Regions from separate parts of the Homo sapiens genome. Here all the other regions are linked to region 1. Evidence: promoter capture Hi-C in 16 types of primary human blood cells and fetal thymus (Javierre and others, 2016). All regions are on one chromosome and are shown on one strand. The core of a region is centred on a gene start or on the middle of the fragment in contact, and the rest is flanking DNA. Distances in the headings are between cores, read along the strand shown.

Region 1 (4,744 bases), core at 1,304-3,803:
GATTTAAGTGTCAGTAATAATATGTAAGTACCTTATGAATGAAAATGGTAATCTGGAAGAACCTCAGAGTTTAAAAAAGACCTCAACGATTACTCATTATGCATTTTTACTGTTTCTAACCTATCACCTATGGTGAACATTTGTTTCTATGTTGGCTGCATATTCAATCACCTGAGGAGCTAATAAAAATACTGGTACTTGACCAAACATTGCTTCTTCCCTCATGAATGAATTAAATCAGAACTTCAGTGAAAGTAGGCCCAGTATGGGGTATATTTCAAAAGATTTCTACATGTTTATAAGGTGTAGTCAGGATTAAGAACCTGTGAATGTCACATCACCAGTCAAACATCTGTGGGCTCTTGCTTAATCCCCTAGTCTACTAAACACAGTTCTACGAGGATCAGTATGATTTATACCTAAACATTATAGGAATAAAACTCACTAGCAACAACATTCAAGTCAGTTTAATCAAAGATCTTATTTGTCTTGTTCATGTGTAGCTATCATTATTATGTTTACAATGTATTTACAACTATTATAACCATTGTCATAAAAATCTGTCGTGTACTCCTTCATGTTTCCCAAACTTTTTCCTGCAGGATAAATGTAAATGTTCTGGAAGATAACAGAAAGCTGGGAAGAAAAAAGGCCATGAAGTCCTTCCAGGTATATGCTCACTATCCTTTCAAAGCACCCACCCACCAAAAAGTCATCTTTTCCTTATCGGCAGATAACTCTTCTAGGGCAGAGGAATGAACACCAATAGATACTGTAAACCTAGGACAGTGGTTCCCAAACATTAGTGTCCATCAGAATCATCTGGAAGGCTTACTGAAACAGATGCTAGGCCCCATCCCTATAATTACTGAAAAGGTAGACCTGGGAAAGGGCCTGAGGAATTTCATTTCTAGTAAGTTCCCAGGTGATGCTGATGCTGTTGGTCTGGTGATCACATTTTGAGAACCATTGGACTAGGATATCCCCACACAAATCCATGATTCAAAGTATCCTGCTGAACCCCTGAGGACACAGTGCAAGAGATGACATCAACAGAACCTTAAGGACATTTTGTTTTCATTTTAAAAATATACTTGGAAAAAAATGCATTTTTATTAACATAGGAAATGTTGGTTGTCTATATTATCCTGATCAATTCACTTTAAGTAATAATCCCAGGACTACCTTTTCTAACATGGATCAAGCAACACTACTTTTTCCTTTATCTTTTCTCCGACCATGGACTAATTTAATATGAACAGTTTATATCAAGCCTACATATCTTTCAATTCAAGTTATTGGAAGACAGCAGTGGAATGAGATTAAAACTATCAAGGGAAATTATTTGAGCCTGGCTGTAGACATTAAGTACTATAGATTCTTAATACTGATTGCCTTTTATGGAATAAAATATACAAATGTAAGTATTAAAGTGAAAGAAAAGCTATAAAACTGATTTATCTGGCTACTGCTAAGCTACAGTGATTTGAGGAGAAGGTCCTAGCTGACCACTACCCTCAGCAAGTAATGGCATTGCTTTCAGGATATGTTGGACTTTTCCCCCACCGGAACAAGGGTAAAACTTTAGGTTCTATGATAGGGGGACAATTCAATAGTTGTCATTCGTCTTTTCCACTTTTCAGTTTCTGAGAGTATGGTTATTACAAAGGCAGAAGTCTTTTAAACCATAGCAAGTAGTTAACAAGTTTACTAACCGCATTTAAAGTGCTCCTTAACAGGATCCTAAGTACCCACGGTCCCCAGTTGTATGAACAGGGTCTTAAACAACAACAAAAAACCCCAAACTAGAAAAAAAGCCTTAAGTGATAATGGCATTCCTCTCTGGAGGCGAATTTTGGACGGTCTTATAATTTTTCTAGACATTTACTTGTGTTTTTCTGAGTTTTCTTCAATGAGTATTTGTTTCATCTTTACAATCAGAAAATATAGTTTGTGTTTTCTGGTAATGCGTGTGTGTTGGAAAAAAACAGGCAAGCTGTCTTCCGATCCTTTCTGCCGTTCCAAAACTTATTTATTCTCTCTACAAAAATACCAAGTCAGGGCTGCGTGAGCTCCACGGACCTCCCGGGAGTTTGGGGTGAAGTGCCCTTCCCTGGCTAGGAAGACGGAGGCAAGGAATTGCTAACCCGCTCTCACGAAACTGGTTCCCAGCAGGACCAAGGAGGGCATCTCCCTGGGGGCTAGCAGGCACCCGGGCGCTCGGGGACGCCGGCACCCACCTGGACGGGGCCTTCAGGTTGCTCTTCCGGAGGAACTCCTCCTCGTAGCGGAGCAGCTTCAGCTTCTCCACCAAGTCCTCCATCACCACGAACATGTGGTAGGCCGCGCCGGGCCCCCGCTCCAAGACCACTTCCCCGGTCCCTTCGCCACGGGACCTAGGCACCCCATCTTCCAAACCCGACGTCGTGACGACGGCCAGAGCAGCAGTCATCGCAGAACGGACAGAGTCCAGCGTGGGCTCAGGCCCACAGACCTCTGCGGCCTAAGCCGCCAGCCCTGCCGCCGCCAGTACAGCCACGACCGGTTACCAGGCGACCACCGGACAATCCGTCACCAGGGAAACTAGACTCCGCCTCCTTCCCTCCAATCAGGGCGGCTTTCCTGAATGACGTCACCTGTGGCCCTCTTCTTGCCCTGCCTCTGTGGAAATGGTGGTCGGGAAGCAGCCCCGCCCCTCATGGAGGCGTGGCGTTCGCGCCCCACTGCCGGCTGCGTCTTCTCCCTCGCTGAAAGTCTGAAGGGAGCCGGCTTACGTTTCTGCTCCGCTTGCCTAGTGAGTCTTGAGCTGGCTTGAGGTGTGTTGGACCTGGTGGTTGCTAAAAGCAATTAAGCGGGCATCTGGGTCAGCTAGTAGCTGTTAAAAAGATTAAAGGGAGGTGAAGACGTGTAGCACTGAAGGCTGCACTGGCTCACTGATACCTTTATTTTCTCAGAATTGAAAAGTTTTTCATAGTTGTAAAGATAGTCAATACCATAGGTTTCACTTTTACTGCAGGAACTTTCCAACGAGAGGTTTCTCTCGTTCTTTCTTTAATTTTATCTTTCTCTCACTAGGCAATGCTGCACTTAACAGTATATTGTAAAGCTTGAAGTACTGTATTACGTTGCCTGGCTGTTACTCCAGTGCTAGGAAAGTGGTTGGAAGGATGAGGAAGACAATGAACAAAAGGAGGCATTTGGAAGGATTTGTTTTACTTCAAAAACAAGAATACTAAGCTTCCATCCTGCTGCTTAATCTGTTTCAAACCCATTACATGTAGTATAAAGTGTTTGGGTACTTCGTTAAATCCAACAGAATAGAGATGGTCTTAAAAGGAATTTCCCTGCCCTAAAGCTCTAAGGGTGGCTAAAGATAGGGTGTTACTACTGTATTCTGCAGTTATTGACCTAGAAAATTTAAGAAAAGGTACATAACTGACCACAGAAATGGCCCAGCTTTACAGTTTTCAAAAGGCTTCTGTATTAGGCAATTTTCTTAACAGTTGCAAAAAATGAGGTAAGTGGTGGATGCCTGGCAGTTTTTGGGAAGAAAACTTAGTACAAGAGATTGAACATATGTTCATGTTTATAACGTGACTTTTAAGGGCTCTCTGATCTCTTGTATCTGCCACTACAAAATATAGAAGGGCTACATTTTTGGACAACTGAAATTTGAAATGTATCTACAATATCCTGTTTTTATTAGAAAAAATGAGAACACTTTTCATTGTAATCCGTCTACAGCTAACTTGTTTCTGATACTAATAAGGTTATCAAAGTGAAAAGTCAGAAGGGCAAATACCATTTTTTCATTAAAGAAAGGAAGTACATAAAATTACAGACTTATGTAGAGAATAACCTGAAGGGCAGCCCACTGAGAATTGCTTTTTAAATAAATAACATTGCTTGCCTACCACAAGTCATGAGCCAGCTGCTTTTAATAAAGTTGAGTGAGAAAATTGGATTTGATGTTACCCCACTACCAAATTGATCTTTCCTGGTCTTTGCCTTTTTGAAACAGTGATTCTCCCCGATAAGTCCATACCCCAACCACCACCACATGTGCAGCTTGGGGGTGTTATATGTATGTATAACAGTCACAGTAGTGTAAGATAGATGTATGGCTTTATAAGACTGAAAAATGAAAGCTTAGATATGTTTTGGGGTCCTAAGTTAACTAACAAGCAAACTGGGGCTTTTTACATGACTCTGAAAAAGCTCTCAGACTTTGGAAGTAAATTTATTACACTCAGGGAGGGAGATGTTCCTGCCAGGCATGCTGCCTACTTAAGATGTTCTGACATTTTCAGGAAGTTACGTAACACAGTATGAAATAGTCAAACGTTGCTTTTTAGCTGATAAATCCTCCAGCAACGTATGTATTTTAACTTGGGGGAAACAAAACGACTCCCAGGGTCTTAGCCATTTCCTTCCCAGGTAAAATACTGACACAGCCTGGCCTGAAAGCAGTATACAGAATAATTTCCCCCCTTAATTGTGAAGAAGAAAAAAACCCAAAAATATAAAGTATTTCCAGTAATTGTGGCACAAAGAGAACAAAAAAGCTAACTGTTCAATACTGCATGTTTCCCCAATAAAAAGTTTTAGAAAGAACACTGAAATTTCATTGTTTTGTAAAGCCCAGGGATTATTTTTGCTGATTCCTTGTTTACCTGTAATAGTTTGTAACACATCAAAAGATCTTTTCCTTGATAGTTTTCTTCGTGTGTGTGAAAATGCACTC
Region 2 (4,744 bases), core at 729-3,228, 3.4 Mb after region 1:
TTCGGTACCAGAAGGGCAGGATGAGCCCTACAAGTGAAACTTTCTCCTGGTCAACTCAAGAGGAGGGAGTTAAGCTTAGGTGGGAAGCTTTCAGTTCTCTACTCTCTTTAAGAAGACAGTCTAATGGCTCATAATCTTGATTCTTCACCAGCGTTTGCTCCAGGTTGCCTAAGGTTTGGGCAAATAGACACGATTTCAAGCTTTGGTTTCAAATCCACTCATAGTCTTCTACTTTACTAAAGTTGGCTGGGCCATGAGTGAACAGAGCTTTCTTGTGCCTAATTGACTTCTTGGTGCCTTTCTTCCAGACCTAGGACTTTCACATTAGGGGTCACAAGTACCCAAGAATAAAGGCGTGTGCCAGAAGGGACTCGAAGCCACAGGGCAAACATAGCACATCCAGAACATCAATTTTGTGTGTGTGTGTGCATGTGTGTGTGTGTGTGTGTGTGTGTAACAAAATGTGAATGAATTTACAAAAACAAACTATGCAGCTTGAAAGAAATGCCAGGATCAGTGCTTGTCATGCCTGCCATACAGGGCTCTGGGGAGTGTGCATTTACTCAGCTCCATGATTAGGGCACATCTGGCGCAAGAGTTGAGAAGCTTTGCCCTCGGGCCGCACACACATCAATCCTACCACTGTGGAGGTGATGGAGGCACTAAAGGTGACTTCCATCCAGGTCATTCATACTTCCCACTCTGAGAGCTTCATTATGTGTTTTCTGAGCCTGACTGCCTGAGCTAAGCGCATCTCATCCTGGGTGCTGAATGCGGGGAGAGGGTAGAGAAAATGTTGAGGTGTCCCCAGAGGCTAGAACGTGTTACCAGTATAAAGGTACTCCCCAAAACACAATCTCAAGCTTTTGCTGGTAGCCGCATGATTTTAGAATATTAGGTCCATATTTATATAGAAGTTCTGTTAGTCCTGACTACAGCAAATGAAGTCAAAGATTTGAGTGAGGAAAGGCAATAAAAAGGAAAGAAAGGCTTAACTGTGCAAAGACAAAAGGTATCTACAGCAGGCAGAGGGAAAAAAACAGAGTACGGTTGGAAAGACCGTGAAGTTCATGTAGTTCAATCAAGCATCAGGTGCTTCAATTCTATCATGTTACTGTCTTATTGGTGCCAAGCTTGGCTTGGATGCTTCCAGTTATAGGAACTCACTTCCTCCTCTACTTCATTATATTGCTTAACTCTGACTTCTAGAATATTCTCCTTTATACTTGGCTGAAACAGAAAGATGTGTGGCATAAATTTTACTTTCTCTTTTACTTCTGCTACTCAAAGGAAGAGGAAGCTGTGGGTGCAGATGTTGCTAAGATAAACTACAACTTCCTCCATGACCAGTTTCTGCAGTTTAGGAAGGGCAGAGCCGAACACGTGGCTGAGTTGGGGAGTTAACTACAGACACTTAAGCAAATCAGAATCCTTTGAAACAAAATCATCAAAAGGCCAAGAAGCATTTGTAAGGGCTTTTGACTACAACCTAACATTCAGAGAGAGTTGATCAGAGAGAGTTGTTGACACACTAAAAATTCATTACTTTTATTTACATTGAAATTTATTTACTTTATTAAAAAATATTTTTGTTGGTTAAGGTTGTTTGTACAAACTTGTAATTTTAATATTTAAAAAGTTGGAAGAGAATGATAGTATTAGGTAATGATAATATTACTAATTTTTACTCCATGGATGAGGTGGCATCATGCTATTTCCAATTGATAGTGGCACACCAAATTGCAGAGTCATGTTGTTAAAAGAATGCATTCCCAAGATTAGATTGGTTAAATGATAACAAATGCACAGAGGTCATTCTGTTGTGACTGAAGCTCAAGTGATTACTAATATACACATTAATACAACAATGTCTCCTAATAATAGACATAATTCTCATAATTCTAGGAACCTTGGGGTGGGGTGGTAGCCTGGAGAAAAAAAAGGTAAGGGTGGCAGATCAATTGATTTTCCTGCTAGTTGAGATCAACTATCTCTGCCAAAATAGTCTTCCTAATTGCATAAAGTTATATGCAGCATGGATAAGAATTGTTTACTCTGCCATTCTACCTATTTTAACTTTTTTAAAAAAGAGAAATTTGTTGACATTTCAAAGCCTTCATCTCAAACATTTGAGACATAAAAATCCCCTGAGGAGAACATTTTAAAGACAGGAGGAAAAGATGCCATCCCAGAGGATCTGATGCAGGAGGGTTGGCATTTGATCCAGAAATCTGTATATTGCATAAACTCCTAGTTGTTCCTGTTGCTGGTGATCTACAGGCATTTTTAGGAATAATTGACACTGACAGAACATATTATACGTGCCTGAAGTGAGCCTTGAATACCAGTAGGTGGCTCTATAACATCTTAAATCAGGGACTTTGCAGCTAACTAGCTAACTAGCTAGAAAATAAAGGCTCTGAGGCCTTTATTTCCTCTCAATTTCCTTTTCAGGGATTGGAGGTGGCGTGGGAAGGAGAAATGGAAGAGGATGCTGGAATGTGGTGTGGTAGACGGAAATGAATGGATATTAAAATGAATTTTACAATCATCACTTGTTAGTAGCCCTCTCAAAAGTATTATAGTAACGACTACTGTTAAAATAAATTTTCTGAAAGCATACCAGAAAAACTTAATGTCCAATAAACTTAAAAGGCACAGAGGCTCTTAGGGTCTTCCTGAACACCGAGCTTTCAAATCTGGGAGAAACAATCTTATGGCCAGCCATTGCTGCCGTTCACTCTTGTCTCATTACAGAATCCCAGTTGTGGGCCATAAATACCAAGTGGGCATGAGGTAATATAGACAACGCTACTTCCTGCTTAAGCTTCTGCTTCTCTTCTACCCAGTTTCTCAAGGACACACCACCTGGGTATAATCCGGGAATGGTCACAGTAAAAATGACAAAACAATAGTCTCCGGCTCTACCCCAATCAACAAAATAAGTGGATCCCAATCCTCTGTCTTCTGATGTCAGGAATGTGTAAGTTGTATCATGTGTCCACAAGTGTGTGCCTCAGTGTCTCCATTTCCTTGGAGGCTCCTGAAGATCCCCAGTTGCTGCAATGATGTCACTCTTCCTGGAGGTAATTGCTGCTGCTGTCGTCACGTCCCAGCACCACCTATGTTGGTTGCATCTCCTCATTCTCCTCTGATCTTTATCATACAGTCTTTTGGCTTGAGCTGGGTGAAGAAGCTTGGGAAAGACTAGGAATAAACTCTACTGGTACGAGGCCATAAAGCAAAGCAGCTTCTACTCCATCCCATCTTTCGTTTACTTGGCTCCTCATTTCAGTCCCTTATTCCTTTTCCACCCACCCCACTCCCCAGCCAGAAAAAAAAATTGTGTGTGACGCATCACTGTGGAACTCAAAGCATCATATAACCTCACTCTCCTCTAGGCAATATCCCTCGACCAAATACATGTCTGTGTTCTGATTCTGCTTGGGATCTGTTCCTTCCCCATCTCGTACACAGCCTGGGAAGTAAGACAGTCCTGGGGCTTAGCTCTGGGGACCAGGGACAGCCCTGGTCCCAATATCATTAAATCAATATGCTTCCTCCAAGGCTTTTTGGGTGCCTTTAATCAAGTAAAATCAGGCCGGCTTATCCTGCCAACTACACATGTCTGAATGGCAAGCTGTTTTGGTGCTTTATCTGGGATCCTCACTACTCATTTATCACGTGAATCCAAACAAAACAAACCACTTGTAAAGTACAGACATTTCAAACAATAAGGGAGTCTCCAAATAGAGGGCTAAGGTTATAGTCAGCTCTTCAGGAATCCAGCAGGGTCTTTACCATTACATGTCACCTATTATAATTGTAACCCTGGTAAAGGCTGTTTATGAACAAAGCATATTTAAAAGCTTGGAAAATTTTTTATGTTGACAAGAGAGGCCATTGCAGGTTTTTAAGAAGGGAAGCAAAATTATTCACATTGTATTTTGGAAGATAATTATGGCAGAATGGGGAATGGTTGGGGAAATAAGAGTGTAATGGAGAAAAAATTTCCAGAAAACAGATTTGCATATGTATTTACATAAATGAGATTGGTTGTATTCAATAAAAATGGATGAACAGTTTGATGAGGTGTTCAAGTAATAAAAAATAATTTAAGAGATAGGGAAGCTACCCACTCAGGCCTTAGAATTACAGGTCCTTGGGGTGAGAAGTAGGGTTGGGGAGCCAAGCATCAGAGTTCAGAAAAGCCATGCGTTTAGTCTCTATGTGCCAGGTCTTTGCATTTTTTCTCACTTTTCATTGCTTAGATAATTGGTTTCAGTGATTTATCTGAAAGACTCTTTATTTCCCCCAAGCATTCTCCATTCTGCCATAGTTACCTTCCTAAAGTACAATGTGAATCATTTTACTCCCTTTCTCAACCTGCAATGGCCATTTTTGTCAATAGAAAAAAAAAGTGCAACTCTTTAATATGCTTTGGTCATAAACAGCCTTTACCAGGTTTACAATAACAGGTAACATGTAACGGGAAGCCCTTGACACAATGATCAAGAGACCTGGAGTCCCAGCTATGCAACTCACTAGCTATGAGATCTTGGACAGCGTTATGTAGCCACTAAGCCTCAGTATCCTTCGTAAAATGGGAACAGTAATAGTATCTAATTCATTGGGCTCATGTGAAGATTAAATGAGAGTAAATGAACAATATTTCCCACTTCTCTCATATGTCACTCTAGTATATTTTCTGTTTCTCACATCTATCATTCATTGTCATAGCTTT
Region 3 (4,744 bases), core at 1,316-3,815, 3.3 Mb after region 1:
CATCCACAGAAGTATGATAATTCCCATTTGTCAAGTACTTTTACTTTTAAGAGGCTTGTTTCTTCTCAGTTGCTTGTCATCTTTTTATCTTTTCCTTTTGTGAGCTTCAGTGGTACTTGTCACAATAATATATATCATTTCTGTAACAGGATTCCATGTTAATTCTAAAACTGAGGCCAACACTATTGAAGGCATGTCACAGTCTCAATGCTTAACACATTTTAAGTGTCCTGTATCACTCAGTCAGACTGCTGATGGGAAAGAGACTCTACTTATGTCTAGTATTTCAGACCATCGATTAGAGGTGATACTAAGTGGAACCTCTACCTAAGGTTAGATGAGGTCCTTTCAATCCTTGTATATTGAAAGTGAAATTTCTTACTCTAATCAACTAGACTGAATTTGGGAGACAGTTTGGAAGTTATGTGGAAGGAAAATAAAATAAAATAAGTAATAATAAAGTTTAAAATAATAAGCATAACATAGGTAATAGTTAACATTAAGTATAGGTTACTTAGAAGTTATATGTAGGCTAAGAAATTTAAGTAGCCCCTCCCAGCATTGCTAACAAGTTGCAGCTGTGAGCTTATCTCAACCTTCCAAGCTTCTTGCCTGCCCCCAGACCCCCACATATTTCTGTAACTCCTGTTTTACCTTACCCCATCTCTGTCTAGCTTCAAGATTGACTGGTTAAGATAACTAAATTGTAAGTTTTCTCAGAATTGTCACGGGTTAAATAATTTACTGTCTTTGCCTGAAACCTGTATCCTGCCTTGTTTTCCCACCTCAAACGACATATAAGCAAGCCTGCTTTCTTTGTCAGAGTCAGCAGCCATTTTGGGCATGAGTCTGCTGTGGGCCTGGATGCCTGAATTAAATAAAGTTCTCTTTGGTCTCTAAAGGTCTCTTTGTCTTCCTTGGCTGGAGTTTTACTGTTATACTTATGAGGGTTATAGAAAGACCACAGACTCTGGGCAACTGAATTCATTCTTTTACTGGAGGTGTGACTTTTTTTGTTTTGTTTCGTTTTTCGTTTTTTTGAGATGGAGTCTCACTCTGTTGCCAGGCTGGAGTGCAGTGGCATGATTTCGGCTCACTGTAATCTCCGCCTCCCAGGTTCAAGCGATTCTCCTGCTTCAGCCTCCCAAGTAGCTGGGACTACAGGCGTGCACCACCACGCCCAGCTAATTTTTGTATTTTTAGTAGAGACGGGGTTTTGCCGTGTTGGCCAGGATGGTCTGGTTCTCTTGACCTCATGATCTGCCCACCTCAGCCTCCCAAAGTGCTGGGATTACAGGCGTGAGCCACTGCGCCAGGCCTGGAGGTGTGACTTTGAGCATACTGTTTCATCTCTCTGTGGCCCAGTTTCTTCCTCATAAAAAGGGGTTAACAACATCACCTATGGCGTGTGAGGGGGATTAAACAAGATAAGATATGAAAGGCCCTTGTAAACATGTATTTTTCAAAGAAATTGCTATACACATATCATTTATTTTTGCAGTTTCAGAAAGCATCACGTGTGTATTATATTCAGCTGTCGTTTTATAACCCAAAAAGCCAATTATATTAAACGTAAGAAGAATCGTCATACTAAGTTTGCTGGTGTGCTTCAATTTTCAAATAGGCTTAATTTTATTCACAGGTAGTCTGAAACCTTCAATTATATTTTGGTCAGACCAACACATAGATAAATATTTAGAAGTCAGTAATTACCTCTAGCTTCTCTACGTAAATGCCTCCTCATTTATATTGTCTCATGCATCTCTATCTGAGTGAGACACAAGCTCTACTCTATTCCTAAAGCAGCCAGGGAGAAATTTCCTCAGTTGCTCCCCTCACCTTACTGAAGTGACTAGGGTTTTTAATTAAGCGTCATTCTATGTGAATTATTTAAACTCATGGCTCATGTTCTTTCTTTTCAGGAGTTTGGGAAAAAACAGTCAACACAGAAGAAAATGTTTATGCTACACTTGGCTCTGATGTCAACCTGACCTGCCAAACACAGACAGTAGGCTTCTTCGTGCAGATGCAATGGTCCAAGGTCACCAATAAGATAGACCTGATTGCTGTCTATCATCCCCAATACGGCTTCTACTGTGCCTATGGGAGACCCTGTGAGTCACTTGTGACTTTCACAGAAACTCCTGAGAATGGGTCAAAATGGACTCTGCACTTAAGGAATATGTCTTGTTCAGTCAGTGGAAGGTACGAGTGTATGCTTGTTCTGTATCCAGAGGGCATTCAGACTAAAATCTACAACCTTCTCATTCAGACACACGGTAAGCATAACTGGTAGAGGGATGTGCTTTCATTCAGCTCTCTCTCATTCAACAAATGTACATTTTAAGAAAAGCAAGGTTAGGCTTGGTGCTCAGCATACAAAGGTTGAGCAGAAAGAGCTACTGTCTGATAAGAGAGACAGGAAGTGACCACAGCATTTAAGTAAATAAATGTAAACTTGCAACAGTGATAAGTGTCGATAATAAATACTGTAACAGTCTTGTGAAGGAGCACATCACAGAGGCCATTGAAATTGTCCTTTAGAAATTAACACCATAGCTTAAGTCTAAAGAATGAGTAGACACTACCACAATTTAGGAGGTGGGGCTGAGGCAGAGTGGGATTGTGAGTAATCCCAGAGAGAGAAAAGAGCTTGCATGAAGCTCTTTGGAGTGTTTGAAGAAATGGGAAAATGCCAGTGGGACAGCAATACAGCAATTAAAGGATAAGGCAGGTAAGGACCAGATCATGTTGGACCTGGTCAGCTTCCCTTTTAAAAGGTTTCTATTTTGATCTCAGAACCATAAGAAGACATGGAAGTATTTCCAACAAAAGGATGGCATGACATTTATAGGCTGACTGTATTTGTGTTGTTTAAAAAAAAAAAGTCATACTGACTTTCATGTGAAAATGAGGTGAAGATGGACAAGAAGGAGAAGGTAGAGACAACTCAGGAGACCACCTCAGTAGCCCAGAAAAGAGAGAGTGGTAGTTCAGGTAGATATAGAAGGAAAATGGCAAATTTTGTTCATTGGGCATAAAACAGATATGATCATAGAGAGAATATAAGACAAGGGCAGTATGAAGGAAGGAGAGAAAGAAGTTAAAGGTGACATCTGGGTGTCTGGCATGCACACCTGAATGGTGGTGCTATTCACTGTGATGGAAGGTAAAGGAAGGTTTGTGGGTGAATTTATGAAAGTGATTCTGGGTATACAATATTTAGTCTAGGGCAGGTAAAGGGACAAAGGAAGCTGCTAACTATGAAGCATTCACACCAAACATACTTTGGAGGCCTGCATTTAGAAGTGGGAATCCTAGATTTAAGTTCTAGCTCCTTTCTGAATAGAAATAAAATTTGACTTGGGGCCTGTGGTGTAAATTCTCTGAGCCCATTTGGAAAATGATTATAATAATGCCTGCCCTAAATTACCTGGTCCTAAAGTAAATGATTTTCATTTCTGCTAATGGAAAACAATGAAAGTGAAAGCCAACAGATGCAAAATGCACTGGCAGTGGACTGGTTCTAACTCAGGGCAAAGTGGCCTGGTAATATAAGAAAAAAAAATAACTCGTGAAGGTCATATTAAAGGGGGCATAGAGCTGTCCAGAACAAGCAACAGGTATGGATTTATAGCCTCCTCTCCATGTCTTATAACTTACTTGCTTTAAAAATATGCTGTTGGAACAGTCCACCTATAGGCCAAGGTCCCATCAACTACTATCTTATAATGCCCAATTCCCTTGCTGTTTTCCAGGAGGAAAACACACCACACACACACACACACAGACACATACACACACACACACACACACACACACACTTCAGTTCAATTAAGGATGGAGTGGAGTGGGATTGAAGTAAAGAGAAATGGAAGACCTATATAGAAAACTGTTTAGCTATACATAGTTTGATTCAGGTAGCCTGTATTTGGATATTGGCTCTATCATTTACCATACGTTTCATCATTCCCAAGTTGTTTCAAGTTTCTTACATAACAAATATGGATAATTATAGTGCTTTCTTTACAGGTATCACTAGCTTGGTGATTAAATGAGATAATCTGTGTAATGCACTTAAACATATAGTTCCTGCTAAAGGATAAGAGTTTGGTAAATGGTAGTTTTCAATTAAGAATAGTAATAATTATATTGAGCAAATTCTATTTCTCAGTTCCAATTAAATATGAGCCCTGCTCCTTCTTTTTATATATTGACCTCATTTGGAACCCAGTAAGACATTTGCCATGTAATGTTAGTACAAGTACACATTGACCTTGGTTTCATACATAGTTTTTTTTGTACATTCTGCCTGAACCAGTAAACAATACTATTGCCTCACGGAGGACTCAGTGTTTCCTTCATTGAGACTTGGCAACATGGACTGATGTACCTTATAGGAAATAGAATAAGTGATGCCACAAAATGAAGACAGCAATGGAGAACAGATAGTATATTATCCAGAAAGGAGGATGATGTTGCCTTTAAAGAAATGTATTTCTTAAAATAAAGAGAACCAAGGGAGTTAAGCTTGTAGCTACTAAAAACTGCAGGTCACTGGAGAGGCAGAAACCGTATCTATACTTTTTGCGGTTGGAAAATTTCCGGTCTTCTGAATGTAACTTTGCTGCTGTCATCTGGATCAGATGAAAAGCAATGGCCTCAGTGTTAGAGAAATGGTTCTGGTATTGTGATTTTGGGTACAAAGGGAGTAAAATAGAAAAGAGCAAAACAGAAGGGGGAA

What was found. Contacts are between HindIII fragments. The CHiCAGO score rates a contact against its expected background, and 5 or more counts as called.
Region 2: a fragment that was not itself captured here is called in contact with the fragment with the promoter of IFT57 in region 1 in 1 of 17 cell types (fetal thymus); the score reaches 6.1 in fetal thymus.
Region 3: a fragment that was not itself captured here is called in contact with the fragment with the promoter of IFT57 in region 1 in 1 of 17 cell types (fetal thymus); the score reaches 5.0 in fetal thymus.

The regions. Positions count from the first base shown.
Region 1 is chr3:108,219,871-108,224,614 of GRCh38, forward strand. IFT57 (intraflagellar transport 57) reads right to left here and starts at 2,554. Exons shown (of 11, transcript NM_018010.4): 1 at 2,241-2,554. The coding sequence starts at 2,452. It overlaps LOC124909405 (a long non-coding RNA gene), which reads left to right and starts at 2,735. Exons shown (of 2, transcript XR_007095999.1): 1 at 2,735-2,816; 2 at 3,076-4,614. RefSeq lists an enhancer at 2,273-2,532 and a silencer at 2,468-2,761. The HindIII fragment of the contact is 9,168 bases long and covers 1-3,104 here.
Region 2 is chr3:111,666,758-111,671,501 of GRCh38, forward strand. No RefSeq gene overlaps it. Among named protein-coding and RNA genes, the nearest start is that of PLCXD2, 5.5 kb to the right of the region's middle. RefSeq lists an enhancer at 1,178-1,227. The HindIII fragment of the contact is 1,694 bases long and covers 1,132-2,825 here.
Region 3 is chr3:111,543,124-111,547,867 of GRCh38, forward strand. It overlaps CD96 (CD96 molecule), which reads left to right. Exons shown (of 14, transcript NM_005816.5): 2 at 1,923-2,279. Among named protein-coding and RNA genes, the nearest start is that of CD96, 3.3 kb to the left of the region's middle. The HindIII fragment of the contact is 3,926 bases long and covers 603-4,528 here.